Linked DNA regions of Homo sapiens: region 1 is linked to region 2. The links are contacts of gene promoters, found by promoter capture Hi-C in human tissues and cell types (Jung and others, 2019). All regions are on one chromosome and are shown on one strand. Each heading gives the region's core, a stretch centred on a gene start or on the middle of the fragment in contact. The rest is flanking DNA. Distances are from core to core; before and after follow the strand shown.

The links. Contacts are between HindIII fragments. The study calls those that stand out against the background at their distance.
Region 1: a fragment that was not itself captured here is called in contact with the fragment with the promoter of SNX3 in region 2 in 1 of the 25 tissues and cell types used here (H1 embryonic stem cells).

Annotation. Positions count from the first base shown.
Region 1 is chr6:108,442,879-108,448,380 of GRCh38, forward strand. It overlaps AFG1L (AFG1 like ATPase), which reads left to right. Exons shown (of 13, transcript NM_145315.5): 8 at 4,336-4,418. Among named protein-coding and RNA genes, the nearest start is that of FOXO3, 120 kb to the right of the region's middle. The HindIII fragment of the contact is 5,786 bases long and covers 863-5,502 here.
Region 2 is chr6:108,258,676-108,263,891 of GRCh38, forward strand. It overlaps SNX3 (sorting nexin 3), which reads right to left and starts at 2,365. Exons shown (of 4, transcript NM_003795.6): 1 at 2,085-2,365. The coding sequence starts at 2,246. RefSeq lists silencers at 1,943-2,052, 2,163-2,422 and an enhancer at 2,550-3,385. The HindIII fragment of the contact is 13,682 bases long and covers 1-5,216 here.

The sequences.
Region 1 (5,502 bases), core at 2,506-5,005, 190 kb after region 2:
CTCCTGAGCCCCTTAGCACCTGCAGCATGGGAGGAGGGGAAATGCAATCTATGCCCTGGATGCAGATGATAAACAGCCCTCAGCCCTTGCGTAACAGTACAACCCAGGATGCACTTTCAGGGAGGAAGAACATTGCTACTTCTCAAGTGTGCCCAGATATTGCTGTTCTGATTATCTCTTGCTGCATAACAAATTACTGTAAAATGACTGTAAAAGAGGTTTAAAAAACATTACTTTATTCTCTCCTGGTTTCTGTAGGTCAAGGATTTGGTAAAGGCTCAGCTGGCAATTCTGGCTCCCTCAGTAAGAGTGGCTACAGCTAGAACAGCTGGGGACTGTCAACACCTCTGTCTTCATGTCATCTCAGTGCCTCTCCAGGGCCTCCTCTCTCTGTATGGGATAGTTTAAGCTTTCTCACAGCATAGTAGCCTCCAGGCAATTAAATGCTCAACTGGCACTTCAGAGTTCCGGAGCAAGCATTCCAACCAATAAGAAGCTGCCTCAAGTGTCACCTAGGATATTATTGCATAGACCATTTCCATCATAGTCACAACATTCAAGGAGTGGGACATAGACTTCACTTCTTGATAACTGGAATATCAACATCACATTGTAAGAAGAACATGTTGGGATGGAGAGATTATTTTACAATGTACAAGTCTTAAAACCCACCACAATTACGTTGGTTCCGAAGGTTTGAAAAATGCAGTTTTTGACTGGGCGTGGTAGCTCATGCCTGCAATCCCAGCACTTTGGGAGGCTGAGGGGAGCAGATCACTTGAGGCCAGGAGTTCGAGACCAGCTTGGCCAACAGGGAGAAACCCTGTCTCCACTAAAAATACAAAAATTACCGGGGCATGGTGACACATGCCTGTAGTCCCACCTACTTGGGAGGCTGAGGCATGAAAATTGTTTGAACCTAAGAGGAGAAGGTTGCAGTGAGCCAAGATCATGCCACTGCACTCCACCCTGGGCAACAGAGTAAGACTCTGTCGAAAAAAAAAAAATTGCATTTTTTCATTAATAAAAATAGTGATGTTGTTAAAATATATTTTTCCCATGAATTGCCATTAAGACAATTTTCATTTTGAATGCAAACAAAATGTCAGCCTATAGTTGTTTCTTGACTTGTCCTGAAATCCCTTAGTCACCATTCTTCTACTGAAGTGAATATCTCCCATCTATCTATCTATCTATCTATCTATCTATCTATCTATCTATCTATATCTGCACAGGCATACCTTAGAGATATCGAGGGTTTGGTTCTAGGCTACTGCAATACAACAGTATTGCAATAAAATGAGTTGCAGGAAGCTTTTGGTTTCTCAGTGCATATAAAGGTTATATTTATACTATACTATAGTCTATTAAGTGTGCAATGGTATTATGTCTAAAGAAAACCTTAATTAAAAAAATACTTTATTGCTAAAAATGCCAATAATCATCTGAACTTTCAGTGAGTGGTCATCTTTTTGCTGGTCTTGCCTCGATGTTGATGGCTGCTGACTAATCAGGATGGTGACTGCTAAAGGTTGGAGTGGCTGTGGCAGTTTCTTAAGATAATGTTGAAGGTTGCTATATAGATTGACTCTTCCTTTCACAAAAGGTATTTATGGCAGATATAGCCTTACAAAATGTATTTCTTAAATAATAATACTTACAAGTTGAAATTACTTCTTGATTCATGCATGGGCTGCAGAATGGATGTTATGTTAACAGGCAGGGAAACAACATTTATCTCCTTGTGCACTTCCATCAGAGCTCTTTGATGACCAAGTGGATTGTCATGAGCAGTAATCTTTTGAAAACAATCTTTCTTCTAAGCAGTAGCTCTGAACAGTAGGCTTAAAATATTTAGTAAACCATACTGTAAACAGATGTGCTGCCATCCAAGGGCTTTGTTATTTCATTTATAAAGCACAGGCAGAGTAGATGTAGCAAAATTCTTAAGGGCCTTGGGATTTTCAGATTGGTAAATGAACATTTGCTTCAACATCAAGTCATCAGTTGCATTAGCCTCTAACAAGAGAGTCAGCCTGTCCTTTGAAGCTTTGAAGCCATGCATTGACTTCTCCTTTCTAGCTATGAAAGTCCTAGTTGGCATCTTCTTCCAGCAGAAGGCTGTTTCATCTCCAGTGAAAATCTGTTGTTTAGTGTAGTCACCTTCATCAATGATCTTAACTAAGTCTTCTGGATAACTTGTTGCACCTTCTGCATCAGCACTTGCTGCTTTACCTTGCATTTTTATGTTATAGAGATGGCTTATTTATTGAAACCTCATGAACCAACCTCTGCTAGCTTCCATCTTTTCTTCTGCAGCTTCCTCACCTCTCTCAACCTTCATAGAATTGAAGGGAGTTAGGGCCTTTCTCTGGATTAGGCTTTGGCTTAAGAGAATGTTGTGGCTGTTTTGATCTTCTATCCAGATCACTCAAACTTTTCTCCATATCAATAATAAGGCTGTTTTGCTTTCTTGTGGTTCATGTGTTCACTGGAGTAGCACTTTTCATTTCCTTCAAGAACTTTTCCTTTTCAATCATAACTTAGCTAACTTTTTGTTGCAAGAGGCCTAGGTTTTTGTCTGTTGTGGCTTTTGTCATACCTTCCTCACTAAGCTTAATCATTTCTAGCTTTTGGTTGAGAGTGAGAGATGTGTGACTCTTCCTTTCACCTGAACACTTAGAGGTCATTGTAGGGCTATTAATCGACATAATTTCAATATTCTTGTTTCTCAGAGCATAGGGACACCTAAGGTGAGAGAGAGAGAGAGAGAGAGAGAGAGAGAGAGAGAGAGAGAGAGAGAAACAGCCAGTTGGTATAGCAGTCAGAATGCAAACAGCATGTATAAATTAAGTTCACCCTCTTCTATGGGTGCAGTTTGTGGTACCCTAAAACAATTACAGTAATAGCATCAAAGATCACTGATCACATAATATGTGATCACCGATCATATAATTAATGACATAATTTTTAAAAGTTTGAAATACTACAAGAATTACCAAAATGTGATACAGAGACACAAAGTGAGCACATGCTGTTGGAAAATTGAGGCCAATAGACTTGCTTCATGCAGGGTTGCCACAAACTTTCACTTTGTAAAAATTGCAATATTTGAGAAGCACAATAAAGGGAAACACAATAAAATGAAGTATGCCTCTCATCTATGTAGAGATACACACACACACACACACACACACACACACACACACACACACACACACACACCCCTACATATATTCCTCTCATTGCCCCCAAAATCCAACTGACCAAGAAGATAGGTGTTGCAAAAGTACATTTGCTCTCAAAGTAAGAATTTGGGATGTGTGTGGTGTATGTGCTTGTGTGCACATATGCACCCTGGGGGAATGGAAAGAAAGGAGCACTTGGGAGAAGAGAAGGGCATTAGTGGCACAGGGTGACTCGGGTTGAAAGGAGGCATCCACAGCAGGAAAGCGCACTGAAATGTTGGTGGCCAGAGAGGAAACTAAAAGGGAGACATGGGCAGTGGCAGCCATTTAGAAGCGAAGGATGGGCATACCTACGACATCATTCTAGTTTGGTCATTTGGTTTAAAATGTGGACACTAATGTTCTGGCCCAACTCTCTCTCTCTCTTTTTTTTTTTTTTTTTTTTTGTGTGTGTGTGAGACAAGGTCTTGCTCTGTTGCCCAGGCTGAAGTGCAGTGGCACGATCATAGCTCATTGCAACCTCCACCTCCCAGGCTCAAGCAATGCTCGCAGCTTAGCCGGCCAAATAGCTGAGACTACAGGCGTGTGCCACCACGCCCAGCTAATTTTTGTATTTTTTGTAGAGATGGGTTTTGCTATGTTGCTCAGGCTGGTCTCAAACTCCTGGACAAACACAATCTGCCTGTCTCAGCCTCCCAAAGTGCTGGAATTACAGGCGTGAACCACCATTGTCCACTCCCAGCTCTCTTATGCTGCCTCTGCCCTCCTGTGGTGCTTAAGACCCATGAGTTATTCTTTCTGGTAGCCTCTAGTTTCTCACTCCAGGGTATTAGAAATTGGGCTATTTTAAAAAAAACCCAGATGAAGTTATTTGGGGAATTTGCTGACAGCACTTTTTAGGCAATGTTTCAGAAAACATGATGCAAATTTTAATTTTTTTAAACTGATATTTCAGTGGCTTGATATATTTAATATTGCAACTTTAGTTTTATGAATCTTGCATGAGTTCTGTTGTTTTCTTGTCATCTCATTATATTAGTTTTTGAGCAAACATTTGAAAAATTTTAAAAATGTATAGTATAAGGGAAGGATTGTAATTCTGAGCCACTACTTGTTTAAAAAGGCACTTCATTTGTTTGGATTGTAGGAATATTGTAATACAGTCCAGCTAGATTCTGGGATAGATTACCGGAAAAGGGAACTTCCTGCTGCAGGAAAACTCTACTACCTGTAAGTGTTTCTAATTTTTAAAGTTTAATGTCTAATCGTTAATCAGAAAAAGAACATAAAAATAAGCAGTTTAATTATTGGAACGTGAAAGGCTGGTTCTGAAGCCCATGATTTTTAAATTGCAAATGTTCTCATGTTAACTTCTTCAACCCGTGTCTTTACCATCCATATTTGCATCATTTATAATGTGTGATTGGACAAAACCCTAATTAGTTTTTTGGGGTGGAATGATGACAGATGGTTAGAATGTAATGAGTATCCTTTTATAAGAGACTCTATTATTACGAGAATATCTTTAATGTGTGAAGTAATTAATTATTTGTGGATATCATCTGACAAGTGTGCCATTTCCGTTCCCCCCAAAATTGTTGTTTTATTTGTCAATCTGTTTGTATTTATCATTGTTGATTGACTTCCATATATAACTGATCTACAATATATATACACAAATACAACTGGATATATTTTTGTCTTTTAAAAGCTAAGATGCTCCTGAGTAGGAGCGATTTATAATAATAGGTGTATTCAGCACGTGCAGTTAATACTGAAAAACAAATATAGTTTGTTTTAAAATGTCCTTTGTGAGAACGTGAAAAGGAAAAAGTGCTTTAAAAAAGCAAACTTGTTTAGTATATGCCAACAGTGTTGGGCACATAGCAAATTCTCAGTAAATAGATCTGTCTAAGGACTAATTGTAATTTAACTAAAAGGCATGTTTCTGGTAATTTAAATTTTGATGACAACGTGCATTTGAGAGGTTGAGAAAAGTTCTTGTCTCTGCCACCTTGTAAGCAGAAGTACTTTACTGTTTTTGAAGCAGAAATTAGCTAGAAAAATCACATAATTAAAATTGCATACTTTACAGTGTACCAAGGGGACTATTTTAGTTTATTATTCAGATCCTGATGATTATTATAGGAGATTCTTCATTTGTCCTCAAGTACTTTGTCTTTAAAGTACTTTATAATTTTAAAAAATTCATAGAGCACATTTTTCTGCTTTAACTTGGACTTTTTCTTCCCAGTTTCTTTTATGTTTGTGTTTACTGGATATTTTATTTTTCTAATATTCACAGCCTTTCCCT
Region 2 (5,216 bases), core at 1,115-3,614:
TAATTTCTTTTTTTGTGGGGAAGGGGTTTCAACGTGTTGCCCAGGCTGGTCTCAAACTTCTGAGCTCAAGGGATCCACCTGCCTCAGCCTCCCAAAGTGCTGGGACTAGAGGCATGAGCCACTGCGCCAGGCCCAGAAACCATTTTTAAGTGTCACATCAGCTATTTGCTAAGGTATTAGGTGTATTAAAAAAAAAAGAGGATTAAATTATTATACTAGAACCCATTTAATATAATGCATTCAGCAAGATAAACTCAAAGTAAGTGGAGGAAGTGTAGGCAGGAGATTCCAATTCAGTTTTGTGACAGGAAGTACCTGCTATGGAAGTATAGAAACAAGAATACCAAGTTCTGTTTTAGCACAAGAAAGAAAAAAAAAGAAAATACTAGTGAATAGGGCAAAAGAGGAAGTTCTTTTTAGTGAACCATCTGTCATGTATTACAGACAATTAGAAAAACATTCACTTTTCCACTAGGTTTATGTATGAATGTAGTTCCCCAGGTGTACTGAAGTCTGGATTTTGCAGTTTCCCTATGACAACATATCCTATGATTCAATTTTTATTTATTTATTTAGAGAAGGGATTTTGCTCTTGTTGCCCAGGCTGGAGTGCAATGGCCCGATCTAGGCTCACGGCAACCTCTGCCTCCCCAGTTCAAGAGATTCTCCGGCCTCAGCCTCCCGAGTAGCTGGGATTACAGGCATGCGCCACCACACCCGGCTAATTTTGTATTTCTAGTAGAGATGGGGTTTCTCCATGCTGGTCAGGCTGGTGTCGAACTCCTGACCTCGGTGATCCGCCCAGCTCGGCCTCCCAAAGTGCTGGGATTACAGGCATGAGCCACCGCGCCCGGCCTATGATCCACATTTTACACATCCATAAGAAGACAACAGTGGCTTGAAACATTAAACTATTCGTTTCATATCTTAAAGTTTGATTAACTTTTTAAAATCAATGCTAACTACGTAAGAATCATTTTTTAAAAATACTTAAGTTTCACAACAATGTGAATATACTACTGAGCTGTATGTACACTTAAAAATGGTTAGGATGGTAAATTTGATTTTTGTGTTTTTCACGACACAAAGTGTGTAAGTTAATGAGAATTTTTTCACTTAAATGTTAATAGTAGCTTGTCATATAAATTTTGATTAAAGGAAAAATCGCTTTACACTTAACTTTTAATAATTTGCTGTCATCTTTAAATTAATGTAATTAATTTTTAAAGATGCTTCCATACATGGGCAAATTCTTTAATCCTGAATTATAGAGTGAAAGTGAAGCACTATTTTCAATTAACATCTTTCAAATCATCTAAATTATTGCCAACAAATACTAGTTATGAAATTAGGTATATTTTATTTCTGTTGATTTCTTTATTCAATTAAGTGCAAATCTCGAATTAAGAGAGCAAGATCCCTAGTCTTTTCTTAAAGCAACTGTAGTTCTGGATTATGAGGTAGGTGACACCACACCTCAGCCTTTGGCAGGGCGGTGGCCCAAAATGCTGAAGTCAACCATGTCCAATCACCCTTCTGGTCTGGCTCAGCCCTATCAAAAATTGTCAGGCTTCTGTGAACTTTCATTAAGTCCCGTTCAGAAGACTGCACAACCCAGGTTACTTTAGCAGCTCGGGAAGGGCCTGGAGCAGCCGGGTTGGCTTGCTACCTCTGGGAAGTCTCCAGGAAGAGAAAACTGGGAAAAGGCTTTAACTTTGCGCAAGCCCCTTTTCTCTGTCAACATCTCTTTCCCTTCCCAGCGAAGGGATGTGTTCTCGAAAGATCTACCCCTTTCCAACTCAAATGTCATTCCCTGATCAGCTGCTGGAGGGGCAAGCGGCGCTCAACCCACGCCCTCCTCTTCGAGCACCTTCTCCAAGTGCCAGCGCGCCGGGCTCGCTCTGCAGCCCCCCACACCAGCCCTACAGGAAGAGGGGCCCTGGCTCACGACCCCGGCCCGCCTCTGCAAGGGGGCTCCCGGCCTGGGAGGCTGTGGCTGCCCGCGGGGGTCCACTCCCGGGTCGAGTGGGGGTGACCAGAGCCAGCGGGAGGGGTTTCTTGGGAGAGGGGAGAGACGGCCTCACCTTGACCCTGATTTCGTAAGTGGTGAAGCGGCCCCGGCCGACCCCCACCGTTTGCGGGTTGCTCACATCGATCTCGAGGAAGTTGCTGGGGGGTCCGTAGGCGTCATTCAGGTTCTGCGGCTTGGTGATCAGCCGCCGGGTGTCAGCCACGGTCTCCGCCATTTCGCTGTAGCTGCTGCCGCCGCCGCGGGCTCCCTCCGCCCCCTCCGCGTTCAGCCGCCGCCGCCGCCGCTGCTGCCCGCCGTGGGGACACGGGGCTCGCGCGCAGCGGTCGCGAAGAGAACGAGCACGTAGAGCGGGCGTTCACCCCGCACGCGAAGCTCCTCCCCGCGCCCCTCAAGCTTCCGCCTCCGAGCCCAGGGGAGAAACGGCTCACTAGCTGGAACGCCACGCCCGGCTCCCGGGAGGCCCGGCCGAGGCTGGGGAGGGGCACTGCGGACTGGGGTGTGAGGAGAAGCGGTGTCATGGGACTCGGGGTCGCAAACAGGTTCCGGCCGGACTACAGCGCCCACAATGCACCGCGAGCGCGCCGCCGCGGGGCTGCGGCCGAGGAGGCGAGGACCCAGACGCCCAGAGCTGGCGCTTCCTGTCTCTCTGCGCCAGCCTCGGCCTGCGGCGGGGTAGAGCGCCGGAAACGGCTTTAGCGGCTTTGGGAATTGCGGGCGAAAGTTAAACGGAGAGATCTTAGAGATTTGCCCGCAAATCGAAACAAAACTGCCCCTACTAACTCTGTGCCAACCTGTGCACCGTCTCACTGTGAACCCCTGAAAATGCCTTTCTGGAGAAGGTTAAGCAAATGCCTGAGATGATTTTGCCATAAACCCGAGCGTTGCACCAGACACGCGTCTGGATTGATAGGTTGAAACCAGTAAAGTGGGGGAGTGAAATAAAAACTAAAGCCCTAGTTAAATCCTAGCATTATGGTCAAATCGATTTTGGAGACAGGTCGGTCCGCTAAAACAAAGTAACAGTAGACCGGCTGCAAGCTGCTTTGGGTGTCCACTTTCGTTTCTCACGAAGTCCTGATAAGTTTTTTTTTTTTTTGAAAAGTATTAAACGTACCTCTACAGGACTGGAAATGCAACTCACATGAGCCTTTTTAAGAAACGGGGAGGAAGGCCGGGCACGGTGGCTTATGCCTGTAATCCCAGCACTTTGGGAGGCCGAGGCGGGCGGATCACGAGGTCAGGAGTTCGATACTAGCCTTGCCCACATGGTGAAACCCCATCTCTACTTAAAAATGCAAAATTAGCTGGGCGTGGTGGTGCGCGCCTGTAATCCCAGCTACTCTGGAGGCTGAGGCAGGAGAATCGCTTGAACCCGGGAGGCAGAGGTTGCAGTGAGCTGAGATCTGCCATTGCACTCCAGCCTGGGTAATAGAGTGAGACTTTGTCTCAAAAAAAAGAAAGAAAGAAACGGGGAGAAAACCCAATTAATTAGGTCCTAGTTCATCTCTTATGGTCCAATGGGAAATGCAGATTTTAAATGTTGAGATACGATACATTTCTATCTCTGCCCAGAGAGTTATCCCTCACAACTATTTCTGCATTTTTTAATATGTCAAGTTTAACACTATAATTACTTTAAATAACCTGATCTTCCCCGCCCCCCTTTTCTTTAGATTTTAAATTATTAGTAATTATTTGTGGAGACGGGATCTCACTGTGATTCCCAGGCTGGTCTCCAACTCCCAGCATCAAAGTGATCCTCCCGCCGTGGCCTCCCATATGTGCTGAGATGACAGGTATGAACCACCGTGCTTGGACTGATCTGTCCCTTGAACTGCAAATTTCTTTTCTTTCTTGCTTTTTTTTTTTTTTTTTTTTTTTTTTTTTTTTTGAGACGGAGTCTCGCTGTGTCGTTCAGGCTGGAGTGCAGTGGCGCATCTTGTCTTACTGCAATCTCCACCTTTCGGATTCAAGCGATTCTCCTGCCTCAGCCTCCCGAGTAGCTGGGATTACAGGCGTGCGCCATGACACCCAGCTAATTTTTGTGTATTTTCAGTAGAAACGGGGTTTTGCCTTATTGGCCGGGCTGGTCTCGAACTCCTAACCTCAGCTGATCCGCTCGCCTCAGCCTCCCAAAGTGCTGGGAGTACAGAAGTGAGCCACCGTGCCCGGCCAACAGCAACCATTCTTAATAACACTAAGAAACACTGGAATAAAAAGAAATTACTTGGCCGGGTGCGGTGGCTTGCGCCTGTAATCCCAGTACTCTGGGAGGCCGAGGCGGGCGGATCACCTCAGGTTGGGAGTTTGAGACCAGCCTGACCAACATGGAGAAACCCCGTCTGTACTAAAAATACAAAATTAGCCGAGCGTGATGGCGCATGCCTGTAATCCCAGCTACTCGGGAGGCTGAGGCAGGAGAATTGCTTGAACCTGGGAGGCGGAGATTGTGGTGAGCCGAGATCGTGCCATTGCACTCCAGCCTGGGCAACAAGAGCAAAACTCCATCTCAAAAAAAAAAAAAAAAAAAAAGGCATTACTTAAATACAATGTATATTATTTTCCAGAAAACAACATTCATTTATTAATTCAACAAATATTTGTTGAAGACCTACTAGATGTTTTCATTCTAAGTACTAGAAATGAAAGGGTAGATAAGTCAGGTTTATAGCCTAGTATATAGTCTGTCTTAGGGAGACAATTCAGTAAATAATACACCTGCCAATATAATTGGTGCTATGAGGCAAATAAAACTGAATAATGTGACAGATAGTGACAGACAAGCTCATTAGATATTAATGCTGGGCATGTCTCCTAATGCAACAGACCAAATGGGAATTTGACTGGTATGATTAGAAATGTAAGCTCAATAAATACATATCAATGACTCTGAATTGAAGTCTATGCAAGCTAAGAGACCAGGAACTACTGTATTATGTTGTCATCGGTGACACCTGAACAAAGCAATCATGGAATATTCTCATAGAATGCTTCTGTCTGATTCCTTGGCGACCACTCAGGGCAGCAGTGGGCAGCCAGAACAAATGCCTGCAGTGGGGAAGCGGCTAGGAGGGACAGCAGCACAGCATCATAGCACAGTTGTATAGCCAAAGAAGACCTTCTTGGTGTAAATATCAGGAAAAAAAATTATCCTTATTTTTCAGGAATTGTGATTGCATTTCTA